3 separate regions of the Homo sapiens genome follow, and all the other regions are linked to region 3. The links are contacts of gene promoters, found by promoter capture Hi-C in blood cells and fetal thymus (Javierre and others, 2016). All regions are on one chromosome and are shown on one strand. The core of a region is centred on a gene start or on the middle of the fragment in contact, and the rest is flanking DNA. Distances in the headings are between cores, read along the strand shown. Region 1 has its middle 150 kb from the start of MINDY3. Region 2 has its middle 170 kb from the start of LINC02654. Region 3 holds the start of C1QL3 (complement C1q like 3).

Region 1 (3,099 bases), core at 391-2,890, 510 kb after region 3:
ACCCCCCGCCCCACTTCAATTACCTCCTTGATGGGAATTATCTACCTTGATGGGAATTACCTCCCACCTGGTCCCTCCCACAACATGTGGGAATTAGGGGAGCTACAATTCAAGATTAGATTGGGGTGGGGACACAGCCAAACCATAGCACCCCATGAGCTGAGGAATATCAGCAGCCTCTACAAGCTGGAAAAGGCAAGGAATGTTTTCTCCATTGGAGCCTCCAGAAGGAACACAGGCCAGACAATAGTGTGAACTTAGCCCCCTGAGAGTGATTTTGGACTTTTGACCTTCAGAACTGTAGGATCATAAACTTGTATTGCTCTAAACCACTAAGTTTGTGGTTACTTGTCACAGCAGCAAAAGGAAGCAAATACACTTATCCTATTTCTTGACTGCCTGTGATGCCCCCTTCACGTTCCCAGAGTTTCTTGTCCCTTCTTCTCTTCCTTCATTTCAGAGGTCAGTTCTACCTAAGCTTGCTTTCTTCCTGTCTCAAAGAGTTCCACCTTGTGATCTTATCAATGTGTGACTTTAAATTCTGCAGTTTTACCCTACATTTCACAGTTTCCACATGCTGCATGGTACTAGTTGTGCCTGCCTGCGGTCTTCACCTGGAATCACAATCTATTGGCTGGGCTCAATCTCATGGTTTGGTGTTAGACAAAATTGAAGGAGGGGTTTTGTTGTTGTTTGGGTGTTTTTTTTAATCCTTGAGTTTTCCACTTTGTAAAACACTTTGTACAGTGTCTCTCTTGCAATGAAAATTAGACATGCATCTCTTTTCATTCAGCACTTCCCTGCCTCTCTTCGCATCATCAGCAATAATAAGGAAGAGGAAAGGTGCGTCTTTGTTGTGAAATAAAAGATCTGAAAATGCTACTATGAGTGTATAAAACCTGCCCCAGCCCTTTCATTCAGAATCCAGTCATCTGAGTCAAAGGGTAAAGAGCTTCAGCATCAAACTATCAGACGACTCAGTGGAGAAAATATCTAACCCTGTCAGAAATTGAAAGTTAAGGCCAAATTACACTTAAATTCTTTGCTATGCTTGTCTTTTGTGTTATTAAGATTTAGAAATTACCTTAGGTGGAATTTCTGAAGGCTTCATGCCCTTTGTTTTTCTCTTGTAATTAAAAAAATAAAGGACAGATTTTAGAGTTGATGGGAATCAGTGTTCTAGCCAGTGAAGGAGCTGCCTCTATAATATCCTCCACAGATCTCATCAGTGTCTTCTTAAATGTCTCCAGTGAGCATGGACTCATTATTAGCTAAAGTTCCCTTTTCAAGAGAGTGCAAGTGAAACTGTAATGTTCTTCCCCACTTAAACTAAAATTCTATATCACAATGACACATTTTTCTCAATTATTCTAAGGAAATTGTGTGTGTGTATATTTGTATATGTATATACACATGGTTTTCTTTTGTGTATTTAATTAGACACTGGATCAAAGACATACAAATAAGTACTTTGAAAATGCACTCTGATTTCTAAAGTAACCCAGATGCCTGCTGATACCTCCTGCCCTTCATAAATGTGGTTGAACTTGGCTTAAATCCCAAACCCACAACCTGTGACAGTTCAGAGAACTTGCACAACTTTTCTGGCATCCTTGATTGAATTCTCTATTTTTTTTTTTTTTAGAAAAAGCAAAAGCAAACAAACAAACAAAAAAACAGGGTCTTGCTCTGTCACCCAGGCTAGGGTGCAATGACATGATCACAGCTCACTGCAGCCTCAACCTCCTGAGATCAAGTGACGTTCCCACCTCAGCCTCCCAAGTGGCTGGGACTACAGGTGCATGCCACCATACCTAGCTAATTTTTGTATTTTTTTTTTTTTTTAGAGACAGGGTATTGCTATGTTGCCCAGGCTGGTCCCAAACTCCTGGGCTGAAGCCATCCACCTTTCTTAGCCTCCCAAAATACTGGGATTACAGTCATGAACCACTGCACCTGGCCTAATTGAATTTTTAGTCATCTCTCAGCCCCCAGGTGTTTCTACCCTTTTAAATAGCGACACAAAGTATCCACCTGTTGTCCAAAAGACATGCACCCACTCCAGCTCTTCCATGTGCTTCATTCTTTACCTGCAGATTTGGGGGATCCACACATTGTCCAAAAGACATGCACCTGACCCAGCCTTTCCATGTGCTTCATTATTTGCCTGCAGATTTGCTGGATCAGGGAGATCTTTATAATACAGAACATAGCCAAGCACGGTGGCTCACACCTATAATTCCAGCACTTTGGGAGGCTGGGGTGGGCAGATCACTTGAGGTCAGGAGTTCAAGACCAGCCTGGCAAACATAGTAACATTGTCCACACACACACAATGCTCTCCTTAAAAGGAACTCTGCTGGATACAGTTTGTTCCAGCTTTGGCACAGAGAAATAATGACTCAATCATGTATCTATCAATGTGGGGTGGAAATTGACCTTTTCATTTCCCCCCTCCTAATTGCTGTTGTAGGCAAAGTCATATCTCACGTCTCAGTGGTGAAGCCTGCTGAAGATGATCCACACTGGTGCAGAGCACTGGATGGGGAATTGGAAGTCCTGGCACCATTCGACTTGACATGCTTTTCTCCTTGATCATATAGACTCTCTGAGTCTCAGGACTTCAGAGTTTTGGGGATGATGAAATTCTGCCTTGTGTGTGGAACTAATTTGAAAAGTGCACAGTTCCATACAGGTGTATGTTATGATTATGCTTGTGATGTTCATTTAAAGCAACAAACAGACCATGTGTAACTGAACACAGTTGTGGAGAGAAGTCTCAGACTGCTCTCGATAAGCTTCCCAGATTTAGCAACATCTTGGCTGCCTGTGCGGCCAGGAAACTCTATAAAGATCTGTTTGCTGGGGAGAGAGACTAAGGACTTCCTTCTCTCTTTAAGGCTCAAATTAGTGAGAGTGTCCTTTCTGGGTGTTTTTTTAACAAGTCCACCTCCAGTCCAGATGGCATAAGGAAGCACAGTGGCAGGACAAAATAACAAACAACAGCAATTACACTTTTAAAAATATTCGTTATTTTTGTATGCAATTCAGGAGACTGGGAAATGTTTGAGGACAACTTCAAGGATAAACAAGATCAGC
Region 2 (3,167 bases), core at 172-2,671, 410 kb after region 3:
ATTTTATGTATTTATTTTCTTCTCCTCCTTCTTTTTCGTTCTTTCTTCTTTGAGATGGGGTCTTGCTATGCTGCCCAGGCTGGTCTCAAACTCCTGACCTAAAGCGATCCTCCCACCTAGACCTCTAAAACTGCTAGGATTACAGGCATGAGCCTCGTGCCCAGCCTTGATTTTAGGTTCCCTTACTCTCTCCTGACCCCGATATAAATGAGCTTTCACTTAGTTCCTGAGCTCTGACCCAACCCTTGCTCCCCTTGACATGTCCCAGTTATTATAATTGGACTTAGCCTTGATCTGTCTTTCCCAATTTTCTTTATGAGAAGCTGCCTGGTTCTTGTCTTATGTCCTGGCTGGTACCCTTTCTTGATGGGTAGACATTCTACATTGTACTTCGCCAACCTGTTTATACCTCCGAACTCATTATCAGCTTGGATTCCATAGTGTCAATTGCTTGCCTGGACTGAAAGTGAACATGATGAGAAGATGCCTTGGAAAAAGCACTCAGATTCCCAGATTGCATGGCCCTTGGGTATTTGTATCTGGATCACTTCTCTCCTATGTCCCCATCTTGGCTCAATGAATAAGTTTCATTTCAGGTCCTTGCTCCTGCCCACCTGACTTATATTATTGTAATCTCATTAAGCTCTTTTATTGACCTCTGAAGTCTTTTGAGAGGAACATTTAGTGGCCTCTGTGTCAGATTTTAAAAGAAATATTATAGGCATTATTTATTGTAAGGCTTTTAACATCCTATGAAGTGGAGACTTTGCAACCCTCATTTTATAAATTAGATAACTGTAGCCCAGGGAAATTATGTCACTTGTCCAAAGACACAAGGCAGCTGTGTGCTTTTAGATCTTGTACTCTTTCTTCTGTACCATGCCGAGGGTCAATGGTATTAATGAAATACCTTCATAAAGCTTTCAGGGAACAATGTAAAATTTAATTCGACAATTTGGTAATGTAACATTTAGCTGAAATTTGATATGATTATGAAGTATTATGGTAAGCCACACCAAAATATTTTGGGAACCATTAAAAACTGGTTTTGGTGAGTCTTTTAGGAAATATTTTCAAAATTTGTACTTGTGCTTTTTTATGTGTACATGATTTTTGTTTCAATTAGAGGTATTTTTCTTTAGCATCTGCTTCTCTCACCCCATAACATGTATTCTCCTACACAGTTTACTCATTCTGCGTTATGCCTTCCCTTTAAATATTCTTGTTTTCTAAGGATCTATTTTCTAGAACGCTACTGTCATATCAATCCTATTTTAAAACACCAAAAATGAGACCTGACATAGTTGCATAATGATTATTGGTTTATGTCAATCTGAGTATGGGACTGTTAGGGAAGGTGGGTCTATTGTTTACTAAGAGCCTTTTAGTTCCACACACAGCAGGTTCCTATCCCTTTCCCAAGGCACACCAGCCCACATTCAGAATTGCAGCCATTGGGTAATATGTTCTGGGGCAGTGCAGTCTGCTTGTCTCTACACCAAGAGGGTCAAAGTGGAGATTGCTGCCCCTACTCCGGCCCCCCCCCCCGCCCCCCTCATTCATAGCACTCTAGGGACACTTTGTTCACTAACCACTTGAAACATGATTCACATGCGCAAGATCACCTTTTCAATGGTGTGTTAGTTTTCTATTGCTGCTGTAAAAAAATGGCCATAAGTTTAGTGGCTTAAAACAACACAAACTTATGATTTTATAGTTCTGGAGGCCAAAAGTCCCAAATCAGTTTCACTGGGATAAGTTGAAGGTGACAGCAAGGCTTCGTTCTCCCTGGAGGCAATGAGGAAGAATCCATCTCCTTGCTTTTTCCAGCTTCTAGAGTAAACTTGTCCAACCTGCAGTCCATGGGTCATATACAGCCCAGAATGGCTTTAAATGCGGCCCAACACAAATTCGTAAGCTTTCCAAAACATTATGAGATTTTTTTTGCAATTTTTTTTTTCAAGATGAAGTCTTGCTCTGTCACCCAGGTTGGAGTGCATTGGCATAATCTCAGCTCACTCCAACCTCCGCCTCCCGGGTTCAAGCGATTCTCCTGCCTAAGCCTCCTATGTAGCTGGGATTACAGGCACCCGCCACCATGCCTGGCTAATTTTTGTATTTTTAGTAGAGATGGGGTTTCACCATGTTGTCCAGGCTGGTCTCGAACTCCTGACCTCAGGTGATCCGCCAGCCTTAGCCTCCCAAAGCACTGGGATATTACAGGCGTGAGCCACCATGCCTGCAATTTTTCTTTTCTTTCTTTTTTCTTTTTCTTTTTCTTTCTTTTTTTTTTTTTTTTGTTCATCAGCTATTGCTAGTGTTAGTGTATTTTATGTGTGGCCCAAGACAATTCTTCTTCTTCCAATGTGGCCCAGGGAAGCAGAAAGATTGGACACTTCTGTAATCTAGACACTGCCTGCATCATTTGACTCGTGGCTCTTCCTACATCTTGAAAAGCCAGAAATGTAGCATATTACCTCCTTTTTAACCTCCATTTCTGTCCCTACTTATTCTTTCTCTTTGACAATGATGCTCTTGCACCTTCTTATAAGGGCCTTTTTGATCACTGTGGACCCACGTGCATAATCTAGGATAACCTCCCTTACTCAAGATCCTTCACTTAATCGCATCTAGCAAGTCCTTTTTACCATATAAGGTAATATGTTACTATTTCTGGAGATTAGGTTGTGGACATCATTGGGGAGCTATTTTCAATCTACCACAAAGGATTTAGTTTCCAACATTGATAGCACAACTGGTGGGGAAAAAAAATAGTTTGATTTGGCCGGGAGCGGTGGCTCACACCTGTAATCCCAGCACTTTGGGAGGCCGAGACAGGTGGATCACCTGAGATCAGGAGTTCAAGACCAGCCTAGCCAAAGTAGCGAAACCCCATCTCTACTAAAAATACAAAAAGTAGCTGGGCGTGATGGGGGGCACCTGTAATTCCAGCTACTCAGGAGGCTGAGGCAGGAGAATCACTTGAACCTGAGAGGCGGAGGTTGCAGTGAGTCAAGATCGCGCCATTGTACCCAGCCTGGGCGACAAGAGTGAAACTCCATCTCAAAAAAAAAAAAAAAAGTTTGATCTATCTTTTCCTCCCGTCCTCTGCTTCTCCCTTTCTTTCTTTCAACATTAGAAGATCTGACTGTAGTAGAAAGGCTAAT
Region 3 (3,189 bases), core at 514-3,013:
TATGTGTTTGCTCCTTAAAAATATGAAAATAAGGCAGCTCATGTGAACAAAAATATTATGGAACTATGTGTATAATTATGCCCAAGCAATAGGCGCGCATTTATAAAACCACTACCCTAAAATAAAAGTTAAGGGCTTGAGAAGTGGGAAGCCCTATTTTCCAATACCAGGAGCAGTGTGGCTCTCTCAGTAGCCAGGAGGTGGAGACCCCCACCCCGCTGAGCCACACAGCACAGCTTTTAGGGTTGATTCTCCCAGCCAAGGCCTGAAGGAGCTACTGACATTTCTCTTAAAAGAATCATTCAGTCTTTGTTTCCTTCTGTCTGCTCGTTTGACCTTATTTTGTTTTGAAACAGAGAAGAAAGAAAGAAAGAAAGAACTAAATTGGTGGGGTGGACTGGAGTAGGCTGGGGGGCGGGGAGATTGAGGCACAGGGAGGAAAGGAGAAGTCCATGCTGTGACACCCGCAGACAAGATCACAGGCTGCTGATCGTCACCCAGGATGTTACTGTTTGCTTGCTGTAGTCTTATTTGTTCCTGCTTTTCTCATTTCAGATTCTCACCCTGATGTAATAAGTCACCGTCTTCCCAGCCATCATCCTCGTATTGACAAGCAAATGTCACCCACGTTTGATTGACATCTGTTGCTCCTGAATGCAAAAGTATGATTTAGGATTCAATTCTACTTATTTATTTAAAGCCATTCTTGTGTGTCTTATGTATTTGTTGGTGGGGTAACTTGCCTGATATCTACCCTGGAGGCCTTCCAGTAATATGATAAACCATGCTGTTCCTTCTGCAGCTCACCCACTGAGAATGGGGGCTCTTCTTTCTTGTATTTCTCCTACTTCTCCCCTCCCTCAATGTATATTCGGGAAATCTGCTATGGAGCTTATAGAACTCTTTCCATATGCTAGGAAAAGACCTTGCCCAGCACTTGTGCAAAAGCTTCTTGCTTGATCTTTTGACGCCATTTTGACAAGTGGTTATTTCTTGTACATTTAGCGACTTTAAGTAAACGCAACTTCAGGGCCATTGGCGGTATCCCCCGAAAGACTGCTAGAACTGTAAGACTGTAAGCACAGTACGTATGTATGCACTCACCACGGTGCAGCATTTGTAAAAAGGACCAACCCCCTCCTCCCCCAGAGGCGGTGGACATGTTCATTTAAAATCATTCACAAATGTTCTTTGGCTTTTCAACATACCTCACTGTTCTTGGGGCAACATCTTATTCATTTACAAGGCAGAGGAGGAAAACCATCAGGTTAAAAGAAAATCACATCTACCATCTGGAAAATTCTAAAAGGCCCTCCTTCTGTTAACAGTGGCATTTTGAAAACACCTGAAGCACTGATTGTAGAGGAGCTAGCAAAGAAACTGTCAACTCAGCCACCCTCCTTTCAACCTTCACCTCCACCCTCCAACTGGGGCTGCTGGCAGTGGGGAAATCGGGGATTTAGGTGTGACCCTTGAGCTCTGAAAGCTGTCGCACAGCTGTCTCCCTTCCCCAGGTGGGTCCAGCAGGACCTGCCATCGCTTGGTTCAGCAAGGGAGTATTCAGAATCTCACTGTTCATCCATGTGCAGAGAGAGAAAAAAAGAGAGGCCGAAAAAAAAAAAAAAATCCCACATTGTCAGAGTAATGCCAAACTCTCTCTGAGTGGGATGAGCAGAGCAGATGCTGCAATGAGATGCCAAAGCGGCTCCCCTTCCTCTGTGCCTTGGGTGCCTATAAATTGCTCCGGCGCGCGTTTGTCAGCCTCCTCTTCTCCTGGCAGGTGGTACCCAGGCAGAATTCTGCCTTCAGTCTCTCTCTCGCTCCGCTCCCGGCCGTGAGGCGCTCGCCGCTGCTCGCTCGCTCCTCCGCCCCAGCTCTGAGCCTCGCCGTGCCGACCGTGCCCGCCGCCGCCGCCGCTGGGCGCACCCGGGGGACGCCCGGGCCCACGCGGGGCTTTGGGGTGCGCGTCTATTCGAGTTGTGGTGGTGGCAAAGGAGGAAGAGAGAAAGGAGGCAATAAAAAAAAAAGGCAGCGGACGGGCGAACTGAGCGAGCGAAAGAAGAGGAGGAGGAGGCAGAAAAAGGCAACTTCAGACGGAAAGTTGGTGCGAACAGGCGCAGTCTGCAAAAACGGAAAAGTCGATCGCAGGCGGCGGCGGCATAAAAGTGTGAGCTGCCCGGGCGAGCTCAGGAGGCGGCGGCTGGCTCTGCCCTCCCGGTGGCCGCGCCGGCGCCGGCTGCAGCCACAGGTGCGAAGGAGCTCGCGGGGGGCGAGGGCGCCCCGCGCACCCCTCCCCCGGCCCCCACCCCGGGCTCGGGACTTCGGCTCAAGTCACTGGGCGCCCGCGCTCCCTCCCCAGCCGCAGCCTCCGCGGGGGGAGCAGGAGTCGGCAGCAGCGGCCGGCGCACGCACGCCCAGGGGAGTTGGGGTTCGCAGGGGGTTGTTTTCGGCTCTGAAGAGGTCCCCGCCCAACCTTCAAAATTCTGTCCAAAAGCAGACAAGAGGATCGCCCCGCGCTGAGCCGGCTGGTGGGCAGCAGGAGGCGCCTGATCGCCGCCGGGGCGCTGGGGGTGGTGATGGTGCTGCTGCTGGTGATCCTCATCCCGGTGCTGGTGAGCTCGGCCGGCACGTCGGCGCACTACGAGATGCTGGGCACCTGCCGCATGGTCTGCGACCCCTACGGGGGCACCAAGGCGCCCAGCACCGCTGCCACGCCCGACCGCGGCCTCATGCAGTCCCTGCCCACCTTCATCCAGGGCCCCAAAGGCGAGGCCGGCAGGCCCGGGAAGGCGGGTCCGCGCGGGCCCCCCGGAGAGCCCGGGCCACCCGGCCCCATGGGGCCCCCGGGCGAGAAGGGCGAGCCGGGCCGCCAAGGCCTGCCGGGCCCGCCCGGGGCGCCCGGCCTGAACGCGGCCGGGGCCATCAGCGCCGCCACCTACAGCACGGTGCCCAAGATCGCCTTCTACGCCGGCCTCAAGCGGCAGCATGAAGGCTACGAGGTGCTCAAGTTCGACGACGTGGTCACCAACCTCGGAAACCACTACGACCCCACCACCGGCAAGTTCACCTGCTCCATCCCGGGCATCTACTTCTTCACCTACCACGTCCTGATGCGCGGAGGGGACGGCACCAGCATGTGGGCTGATCTCTGCAAAAACAACCAGGTGAGCGCGGGCGGGCGGCGGGGAG

Evidence for each region. Contacts are between HindIII fragments. The CHiCAGO score rates a contact against its expected background, and 5 or more counts as called.
Region 1: a contact is called between a fragment that was not itself captured here and the fragment with the promoter of C1QL3 in region 3, in 1 of 17 cell types (endothelial precursors). The highest score is 5.5, in endothelial precursors.
Region 2: a fragment that was not itself captured here is called in contact with the fragment with the promoter of C1QL3 in region 3 in 1 of 17 cell types (endothelial precursors); the score reaches 5.3 in endothelial precursors.

The regions. Positions count from the first base shown.
Region 1 is chr10:16,010,198-16,013,296 of GRCh38, reverse strand. No RefSeq gene overlaps it. Among named protein-coding and RNA genes, the nearest start is that of MINDY3, 150 kb to the right of the region's middle. The HindIII fragment of the contact is 2,320 bases long and covers 481-2,800 here.
Region 2 is chr10:16,109,831-16,112,997 of GRCh38, reverse strand. No RefSeq gene overlaps it. Among named protein-coding and RNA genes, the nearest start is that of LINC02654, 170 kb to the left of the region's middle. The HindIII fragment of the contact is 998 bases long and covers 923-1,920 here.
Region 3 is chr10:16,520,453-16,523,641 of GRCh38, reverse strand. It overlaps C1QL3 (complement C1q like 3), which reads left to right and starts at 1,763. Exons shown (of 2, transcript NM_001010908.2): 1 at 1,763-3,164. The coding sequence starts at 2,577. RefSeq lists silencers at 1,823-2,052, 2,323-2,542, 2,853-2,912. The HindIII fragment of the contact is 3,157 bases long and covers 951-3,189 here.